2 separate regions of the Homo sapiens genome follow, and region 2 is linked to region 1. Evidence: promoter capture Hi-C in human tissues and cell types (Jung and others, 2019). All regions are on one chromosome and are shown on one strand. The core of a region is centred on a gene start or on the middle of the fragment in contact, and the rest is flanking DNA. Distances in the headings are between cores, read along the strand shown.

Evidence for each region. Contacts are between HindIII fragments. The study calls those that stand out against the background at their distance.
Region 2: a fragment that was not itself captured here is called in contact with the fragment with the promoter of ASTN1 in region 1 in 2 of the 25 tissues and cell types used here (H1 embryonic stem cells and heart left ventricle).

Annotation. Positions count from the first base shown.
Region 1 is chr1:177,161,074-177,166,112 of GRCh38, reverse strand. It overlaps ASTN1 (astrotactin 1), which reads left to right and starts at 1,401. Exons shown (of 23, transcript NM_004319.3): 1 at 1,401-1,719. The coding sequence starts at 1,437. The HindIII fragment of the contact is 7,081 bases long and covers 1-5,039 here.
Region 2 is chr1:176,946,516-176,951,848 of GRCh38, reverse strand. ASTN1 (astrotactin 1) reads left to right here. Exons shown (of 23, transcript NM_004319.3): 12 at 2,498-2,664. Among named protein-coding and RNA genes, the nearest start is that of MIR488, 80 kb to the left of the region's middle. The HindIII fragment of the contact is 8,935 bases long and covers 1-5,333 here.

The DNA.
Region 1 (5,039 bases), core at 152-2,651:
GTAATTGTTTCTTAAGTAGGGGTCCTCTTTTAGAACAGTAGTGCATTAAATTTCTAGAGTGAGAACTACAAATAACACAGTCTTCACAGCACCTAGTATTGAAGTTAGCATTGACCCAATAACAATGGAGGGACACACTTTTGAAATAAGTTATTGGTTATCATGTGAGAGAAAGTTCAGTTAAATGTCAGATTTCAGAATACACAATGTCACTTTTCTACCACTGTTTATTGCATATTGTCATCATTTTTAAAAGGCAACATTGTTGAGCACTACTGGGAACAGATCTTACATGGGTTTTGGTGGTGGTGGTGGTGGTGTTATTCTTCAGAATACTTACGCAGGGTGCTGAACATCTTCCCTGTTGTACTCTTGACTGGATTGGGATTGACTTAGCTCATACCCAAGGATATTCTTTTATTACTTTTCCATCTGTTAAGAATGCTTAGGAACTTTGGTTTTTCTCACAATTTCTTTCCAGCTTTGTCCTATTTACTAGATTGTCTAAAATTAAAGTTTCAAGATTTATTTGAGCTAACCCTACTTTTTTTCTATCAGCTATAATATTCCCCAAATCATCTTTTTATTGGTTACTACAGATAAAATTTGTGATAGAAATGAAATGAAGCAGAGAGAAGTTGCGAGTAAAAGTTTCGATCTCCTGCTTAACTGTGCACCTTACTCTGTTGTGCATATCTATCCATCCATCTAAACCAGTATAACAAATATTTTCTTTAAATATTTTGCAAAGTTAGTGCTAAGTAAAAATATGCACATGTGCATTCCCAGCTCCCGTTTATCCTATGTACAAATCCAACTAGTGGGGGACGGGGCGGGGTGGAAGCAAGATTCGGACAAGCTATAATACATCCACAAAACCACTGGGGGAATTTTCATCTCCCCTCACCGCGCAGCTTTGCAGAAGCGCCCTTTAAGGTGTATGTCTGTGTGTGCCTCTCTCAAGCCTTCTGGATGATGATGCGAGAGGGAAGATTTTACATTGCAAAGATCAATGTATTAAAAATGCCGTGCAGGTAGTTCATAGCCAAGAGCCTTGCTCGTGTTGGAGGATGCAACGGAGGAGAGAGGCAGGAGCACCGGCAGCCAGCTGGGGGCTGACCTGATTCCCTAGAATCCTCAGCTCCCTTCCTCTTTCCTTTCGACGTCCTTCCTTCCCTTTTTCTCCTCTCCCCCCTCCCCCGCTTTCCCTTCTCCAGATAAGCAGCTCCGGGAAACAAAGAATCCGGGGCTCTCCAGACATCAGAGCTTAAACCCAGGACTCTGCAAGCGGCATCTCATTCCGGGGTCCAGGGCTCTCCCGGCTCTCCATCCCCTCCCTAACCTCCCCCGCCTCCCGCGCTCGCTCCCTCGCTCCCTCCCCGCTCGCTTCCTCCCCCACCATCGCAGCGCTAGGAGGAAGGCGGCCGGGGCTCAAGATGGCTTTAGCCGGGCTCTGCGCCCTGCTCGCCTGCTGCTGGGGGCCGGCGGCGGTGCTGGCCACGGCCGCCGGCGACGTGGATCCATCCAAGGAGCTGGAGTGCAAGCTCAAAAGCATCACGGTGTCGGCACTGCCCTTCCTGCGCGAGAACGACCTGAGCATCATGCACAGCCCCTCGGCCTCGGAGCCCAAGCTCCTCTTCTCGGTGCGCAACGACTTCCCGGGAGAAATGGTCGTGGTGGACGACCTGGAGAACACGGAGCTGCCCTACTTCGTGCTGGGTGAGTCCCGGGGGAGGTCGAGGCGGCCGGAGGCGCTGGACCGGCGCCCCCACCCCCCACTCCAGCTCGCTCTACACACCCACTCGCCGACGACCTCCCCTCCCCCACTCCTACCTCCCGGATCCGCCCCACTCCCGGACCATTCTCCACACCCACTTGCATACTAGCGCCTCTGTGCACCTGACTTCTCCCCAAATCCGACCTGGATGCTGAGCCTCCTCTCAGCTGCCCTGCCTCAAAGAAACAGGTTGCATGAGTCTCTCTGAAACCTCTCCCAGCCTTGACCTCCCAGCTTTGATTCAGGAGCACATCCACACAGCACTTTTTGTCTGCTACCAGTTCAACTCCCATAATCCCTTCTCCCCACTCCCTAGCCACATGCTCAGCTCTTTGCTTCACTCACTCTGGATACCCACACCCACCTACAGCACTTCCTGGGGGCTTTAGAAACAGGTATCCTGTCATCACCTTGCCAGCTATGTGCAAGCCAGATTCTAGTCTTCATTCATGGAGAGCCCTTTATCTGTCACCAGGCTACTGACACCCTCCCTTCCAAACACTCAAGTTTCTTATCCCCCAGCTGTTCATTCTGGGAAGTCCTACCTCCATGCTTAGATGTCACAACCCCCTAATTCAACCACATCCACACATCCATGTCACGTCACAGTTGGTTAAAGATATTATACAACTGTAGTCTGTTAGTATTGGTCTCTTCTTTGTTCCCAGGGCCACCTTAGATAGGCGTAGGCATTCCTGCACACAGAATGACCTTTCTAGGCAAGGGGCTCTTCCTTCCTTTGTTTGTTTACATCTCTCTCTTTTTGGTACTCCCACTGTAATTTTCTTAGGTCACCTTCAGGTAGTGGAACTCCTGTCACTTCAGGTACTGGAACCCATACATTACTTCAAATCATCCCTGTTTTCCACTACTAAGCTGCAAAGGTTTTGTGGTCCTGCTCTAGTATCTTGCAAAGCACCACAAGTTCATGTTACTTTGCCAAATTCCCCTCACTTCTCCATGTGTAGATGGAGCTCTCACCTTGCTGTGCATGCCTACCATGCAATCCATTTCTTTAGTGATGTTGCCAATTATTCTTATTTTGCCCAGGAGAAATTCAAAGAAAACCACACTTCAGTCTCTAGATCCAAGTAGAGAAAAAAAGAAAATGTCTAGGAGGCTGTTCCATTTACTTGATACCCTACCAACTACAGTTCCATTTGCAGAAACATGGTTTCCTGATGGCCACATGTAGGCTAGAGCCACATGTGGAATTCTAACACATCCCTCTTGCTCTTCCTTCATAGGAGATGTCTTCACACTGAAAACACTAGGAAGTGAGTGAATAAACCCCTACTCCCCAACCCTTAGGGAAAAGCAATTTCAAAAATTGCCTGGCCCTTTGAAAAGTTGCTTTATAGTTCCCGGAGTGCAGCTCAGTTGAACCCATTAAACCCAACCTATGCTCTTGATAGGATTATTTATTTTTGCTTTCAAAAATACCAATAACATAATAAAAACTGGGGACTAGCTGGAAATGGGAGCATTGTGGATATGCCGCTCATCAAAATGTACAATTACTGGGTTATTTGGAGGATGGAAAGTTCACGTTGAAGTCATGCTGATATGCAAAGTACAATCTGTTCATCATAGTATATAAAAGTGAGTAGAGGGAATTATGTGTTTCTAAAGAGGCTGTTTTGCACTCTGCTTGTAGTGTTTACTGTGCATGAAGAGGTACAAGCATGGTGCTTAAAAAAAGGGAGGGCTAGCAGGTATTCAACATTTCATTTCTTTTTTGCAGAATCCCAAAACCAGGGCCTAATGCTGTGATGTGCCTACTAGGAACCAATGTGCACAGTGAAAGCCCAGATGTTATAAGAACGGGTTTTCTGCACCTCTGTGCAAAGCTGCCCACTGCAGTGTCCTGTTGGGGTTGCTATGGTAATCTGGTGCAACTTGGCATTTACACACAGGCACACAGACACACTCTCTCACTTCAGGGCCAGATGCACTATTTAAATGCATCGATTATCTCCCACTCTCCCAGTCAGTGGGGTATGCTCAGAACCAGAGAAGGGCTGGTACTTATTCTTTCTGACTCAGTATGCTCAAAGGAAGAAGGAATGAATTTCAGTTTGGGTGGGTGGTTAAACAGATCTGGGCAGAAAGGAAGAGGAGTCCAAATTTATGGAGGATAGACTCAAAGGTAGTTTTGAATTTAACTTTTGTGGTCTTGATCATGCAGCTCTTGGCCAATGGTGAGGGCTGTAGTGACTTTGGTTTTGAGATTTCCCTACTCCTATCTTTGGAACCTTGTTTACTTAATCCATCTCCTGGAGGAATCTGAATCAGTCAATTCTGGAAATTTATTGAGTTGTACCTGCTCAGCACTCAGAGGCATTACTAGGAAACAGAAGTTAAAAAAAAGTCTCTTGCCCTCAAGTGGTCTCTAGTCACTGGAAACACAAAGATACCTGTAAGAGCTGTACCTACCTAATTGTGTGGTATGGCTGTTAAGGGGTATAGGGATGCTGTGGAAGGATTTGCTTGCATGACAAGAGCAGATTCCATGGTAATCATGGACCAGAAGCTTAGGCTAAAATCAGATCCTGTCACTCCTTTGAGTGAAAAAAAAAATTACAAACAACAAGAAAAACAAGCTTTGGCTTCCTTTTGCCTCTAGGATCAAGTCCTGTCACTTCACTGAGGCTAACTAGGGTCTTCTCATTCTGATTGCAGCCAACTTCTCCAGCCCTTTATCCCTCCAAGCCTGCCATGGCCTTCTGGACTGTTTCAAGACTTTGCACATGTAGCTACTCTGCCTGGAAGGCTCTTTGCCCTTTCTCTATTAGGTGGTATCCATTCTTCCTTCTAAACCATGCACAAGTCATCTCTCTATGAAGCCTCTATCCCATTTCTGTGCTCTTTGCATGGATTAAAACAGAAAACACTCACAAACGTGCAAAATTAAAGGTAGATTAGGCTTGGCTTGGACTAGGAAAGGTGAAGACATTTAAGGTCATGGAGAAAAGATGAGCAAAGGCATTTGGTGGTGGGAGTGAATATGGAAATGGCATGCATATGGCATAGTGTGGGGATCGGCCTGCCTGGACAGAGCCTTGTGACATGACAGTAGTGGGGACTGGGCCTGGCTCTGTAGAGTGGCATGTGGCTCTCCACTTCAAAACTAGGCAGAAAGGGCTGACTTGACATAGAAAGCATTGAAGTCTGGATCCCAGAGGTTATCTCAGCCATCAGCCTTGGCAGTTTTGCGTGTGGTATAATTCCAAGTAGAGAACAGGAGTCAATATCTCCTTTT
Region 2 (5,333 bases), core at 158-2,657, 210 kb after region 1:
CTGATAGCTATTAATACTATTTTTGGCTTTATTGATAAGTAAAAAAATAAAAAACCTGGACAAGACAGCTAACTGTCTTTTCTGCAAGTTGCCTAAGAGAGTATGAATTTCAGCTGGTCCAATTTGGGATAGCAGTGGTCATCTAGACGTTAAAGCCAGGCAAGATGTGGTTTTGGAATTCTGAAACAAAGCCTGCTCATGTTTCATTCAACAAAGTCTTTGTCAAAAATCATGCTTGAAGGAGAACTCTGAAAAAAGCGGGTGGTTGGAAAGATGGAAACTACTGGCTAGTGACTGAGGTAGCTAGGTGGTACAAGGGCTGAAACCATATGAGGTGGGAATAAAAGAAGGACTGACTTTATCTGCTTAATGGCTTCTAGCAAGCTGTCTAGAAGGAGGGAAAAATAAACCAAACTCATGGCAACCAGTGCAGCCCATTCAATTCCAATCAAACTTCCATGTCTTCCAGGTTTCTATCCTGCATCCATGCCTGGGCAGCCGCACAGTGCTGAAGCCAGCTCCCTTCTGGTGGCACATCTGGCCTAACAGCTGGGTGGCCAAGGAATATGATTAGTGGGAGGCTAGCAAAACATGGGGGGCAATCCTCAGCTGCCTCATTTGCTTGTTTACCATCATCTGGAACAGCTGGGTTTGCACAGCACGAGGCAGCCCTTGGAAACTTCTTTAAATGCTGTCACCTTCCAGCACTCCAGCTGCCTTCATGGGGAGAAAGGGAGATGGACCAGGCTGGGAGCCTGGCAGGCCCACAGGGGGCCATTTGTTTGGGAAGTTACAGAATTAGTGTTAGCAAACAGTGCATATCCTGCCTGGTGATGATCTTCAACTAAGAAAGAGGAGGAAGGAGAGGTGAGTTTTCAGAGGCACACCTGCAGCAGCTGTGGGCTACTAAGACAAGGTGCTTGGCAGCAAAGAGAAAGTGCAAACCAGGCAGTAGGGAGGGAGGGGAGATGTTTAACACTGTGTTTCATTGAGTTTAGAAAGTTTTGCTTTAGTTTGGTGTTGGTTTTGGAGGAGTGTGTTAACTTGTTGGCGATATGTATACAGCATAGTCATTAAAAGCCCCAGCATTGGAGTCAGATCTGGACAGACCCCCAGTTCTGCCCGACTCCTGCTGCTTGACCTTGTGCAAGTTATTTACCTGCTTCCAGCCTATTAGAAAGGATTAGCTCTAATGCAAATGTACAGAATCTGTTGCACAAGCAGAAGGTGCAGGATGGGGAAAAAAAGTCATTGACTTTGAAACAGAGCCCAGTGCAGTGAGAAGAGTTTGTGAATTAACTGGCAATGTTAATGGTGTCCTTACCTCTAAATAGGGATAATATAGGGTATTGTGAGATAAAATACCTAAAGTACTTAAGCATAGTGCCAAGCTCCTCATAAGTGTTCAGTAAACGGTGACTACTGTGTAAACGGTTAAGTGTGGTGTGTGCTAATGATGAAGCAGCTAAGTTACGGACTCCACAGCCAACCTACAAAGGGTTCAAGCATGGTTCTGCCAGGAGCAGCTGTGTGACTTTAAGAAAGTGAAACTCTCTGTGCCTCAGTTGCCTCATATGCAAAATGGGGATGATCATACTGCTTACCTCCTGGGGGTGTTGTGAGGATCACATGAGTTAGTGAGCACCTTAGACCACGGCCTGGCATATAATAGGTGATGGGTAAGTGCTGTAATTGCTCACCAAGTCCTTTTGTCTTCTCCTGGGAAAAGACATCCCTTCTTAGATATTCTCTTTGCTATAATTCTTGGGGAGTATATTACTGAGGACAAGGTAGTGCTGAAAAGCTAAATATTTTGCATTAAAAGCATCCAGCCAAATCCAAGTGCAGCACCTGTGGGTGACCATATAGTAGGTACCCTTGTGTCTTAGGTGTCTTCCAAAGAGCATCCCTGACACAGGGAGGTGATGACACAGCTACTCCCACTATGAGAGCAACCCCCCTCTAAGCTTACAGGGAATGTTCACTTCCTCCTTCAGGCTGGAAGCCCTGGCTCAGTCCATTCCCCCCAACACTGCTATTTGGTACCATTGTTGACAAAGGGCTTTAGACACTTAAAAAACTCATAGTACCACCAAGGCCAAAGAGCAGCACTTCCTTCCTGTAGCCCAGTGGAATCTTTGCAAATGCATTTTCATTCTGGCCCATCACTTCCACTCTCCTGCCAGCCAGAGGCCCATTTGGGAGGCCAGTACACCTCGGCTGTGTCTTGCTACAGTGCTCTCTTCCAGCCTTTTTGGAGGAAGTGTCTTTAATGCAAATGTGTGTGATCAGTGTCTAGAGAGAAGAAGAAAGACGTCAAAAAAGGTCACTTGTTTTTAAAAGAAGTCTGCTGTGGTAGGAAATTCATGGATTACTTGCGAATGTTAATAGTTTCAAGGCTGAGTGCTACAAATTGGTGTCAGTGGTTACACTCAGTTCCCAGAGAACTCAGTTCCCCGATTCACCCACGTATGTGGATGTTTTCTGATTGTGCCAGTGCCCATCTGGACTCAGTCCCATGAAGGACAGCTCTGGCTGCTATGACCGCCACATCGGGGTGGACTGTTCCGACGGCTTCAACGGCGGCTGTGAGCAGCTGTGCCTCCAGCAGATGGCGCCCTTCCCGGACGACCCCACCTTGTATAACATCCTCATGTTCTGTGGGTGAGTTGAGCTGCCAGCGAGGCCACCTGGCGTCCATCTGTCCCAGGACGCAGGACTTTCAATGCTAAATCCAGGAAATGTGAGTGAATAGGTCACCCTAGGCCATCCCTTAGTCTCTGAGGAAAGAGCCTCTAGGACTTGGGGGGGAACATTTTTAAAGTCGAGGGGGAACATTTTAAAGTTGTGTGGGACCTAAGTCTAGTCCAGCCCCTATAGATGGGGAAACTGAGTCTGGGGAATTTACCTGCAAGGGGAAGTTAACTACATGGTTTACTTAAATCATTCTCCAATTAAACCAGCATTTTCCAAGTTGTGTTTTGAAAGGCTATGTTAATTAAGTGTTTTGTGACAAAAGGTTTTTATTGTTTAAAACTCGGGAAAGAGTGTGCAAAACTAGTCAATTCTCAAAAAAGGGGGGTGGTCTTTGGACAAATGGAAACTTTTCTAAATTCTGCCCCCAAAGTCCCAGCACTGTGTGCAGCCACTCCTCCTGAGGCACAGTGATTCCTCCGTGTGAAGAGCCCTTTCTTGCAGGCAGGCTCTCCCACCCACCTCAGTTCATCTCTTCTCAGGATCACTCTGTGAGGGAGCAGGGCAAGCAATGCAAACCCATTTTACAGATGGAAAAACTAATGCACAGTGAGGTTAAGTGACTCCCTCAAAGCTGGGAAGATGGTGAGTGAGAAGATTACGACTGGATTCAGGCCCTCCCTGATTTTTCAAAAGTTCTGTGGTTCTCTGGAAATTTAAATTTATACTGCTGACTGGAATTATATTTAAAGACATTTTATGCTATATTTATAAAGTAAACAAAGATTCAGCTATTCTTCTACAGCCATAGTTAGCTTGTCTATCCTTCCCCCACTCTCCATTCTCCCCCCTCTCCCTCCCCTCCCCTCTCTCTTCCGACCTGCTAAGGACAGAACTTACTTTATGCCACAAACTGTGCCGACCACTGAGCTGCAAAGATAAATAACATATAGTTCTTGCCCTCAAGGATCTCACAGTCTGATAGGCTTGCAATGATAATCAATGTTTATAGTCATAAAACTAGGCTGGATTGTTGCCCAAAGCCAGTGCCTGCTGAATAATCATGTAATGTTATTTTATTGTGTTTCATTTTATTTCTTTGTAATTGAACCATTTTCACATTCAGTTTCTTGTAAACTCTCATACCATAAATGGAAGCTTGCTCTATATCTTAATATTCTCTGTAATGTTATCATTAGGGTTGACCCATTTCAATTAATAGAGGTCAATTCAGCCAAAGTTATATAAATGTATTTATTTAATAAACATATATTTGAGCACCTACTTTGCACAGAGAACCCTGGGTGTCAGGTGTTGGAAAAAGAACAGGATACCCGACCTGATCTTTCCCCTCAAAGGAGTTTACAGTGGGACACATGGTCAGGAGAATGAGGAAGATGAGGCAGTGTGAAAGGGGAAGCTGTCCAGATGTTCAAGGTGGACTGAGAGGGAACCAGCCAGCTTCAGAATTCTTCCTAGAAACACTGTGCTATTGCTCAAGGAAGGAACCACTTCACTATCTTGTCCCAGACCTAAGCTGGTGTCATGGAATCCTCTGGGAATCTTGAGTCACATCTATTTCCTGGACTAATGTAGTAGGACCTGGACTGGATTTCTTTCCTGTTTCAATAAGAATCAGACACACGTGTGTTTAGCACTATCTAAGGTACTATATATAGCGTGCCGAAGAAGTCCTTGATTTGAGATTCTTATATAAAGACCAAATCACATACATTTATAATTAAAGAGCTCTAATCACACCTGTTCACACAAATATATAAATGGTAAATGGAAAAAGCAGTTAAAGGTGCATGAACATGGGCCTCATTTGCACCTCTACTTCTACAAATAGTAATATTTAATGAACACTAGCTATGTGTTAGGCACTGCATAAGCTCATTACATGCAGTCTCTCAATCTTCTCAACAACCCAGTGAAGCAGCTACTTTTTTCCCATTTCTACAGTTTTGGAAACTGAAGCTCAGAGAGGTTAATCAGCTGGCCCAAGGTTTCCATGTAAAGGACAAAGTCACTGCTATTACAATATTGCTTCTCGCTATATTATTCCTTGTTCCTCTACATAAGACAGAGTTCTTTATCTTATTATAACAGTGACTGTGGATAGGAATAAATGATGTGCTTTAATATCATGAGCATCTTTAAATTCTAAATTTGGTTTATGCCCAATGAGAGACCCAGATTAAATCAATATTCTTTTTTAATGACAGCCTTATGAGAAAAGTTCTTACTTTAGCTAAAAAATGTAAATTCTTCTCACTATAACTACAAATAAGGTCCAATTAATGACTTATGAGTTGCTGACCCATATTTACTAACATTGATGTTGCTTTTCCATCCTAATGAGGAGGATGCCAAGGAAGCAGTTGTTGGTTAATGGTGCACATGGCATTCACACTGTGTGCCCTAGGGTCTATTTAGTTCAGGAAGGCTACTCCTAATGGAGGAGGAGTTTTTATGGGTTGATATTGTGTTTGGATACATTCAAACAGTACAGTGCCAGGAGATGATAAATCTTTCTAATTTCTTAGTTGACTTATCACAGGACCAGATTAGAAAGTTATTAATTTCTTAAGCATGGTGTCATTCCTTTTGCTGCCTTATTACCCTTCAAACAAATG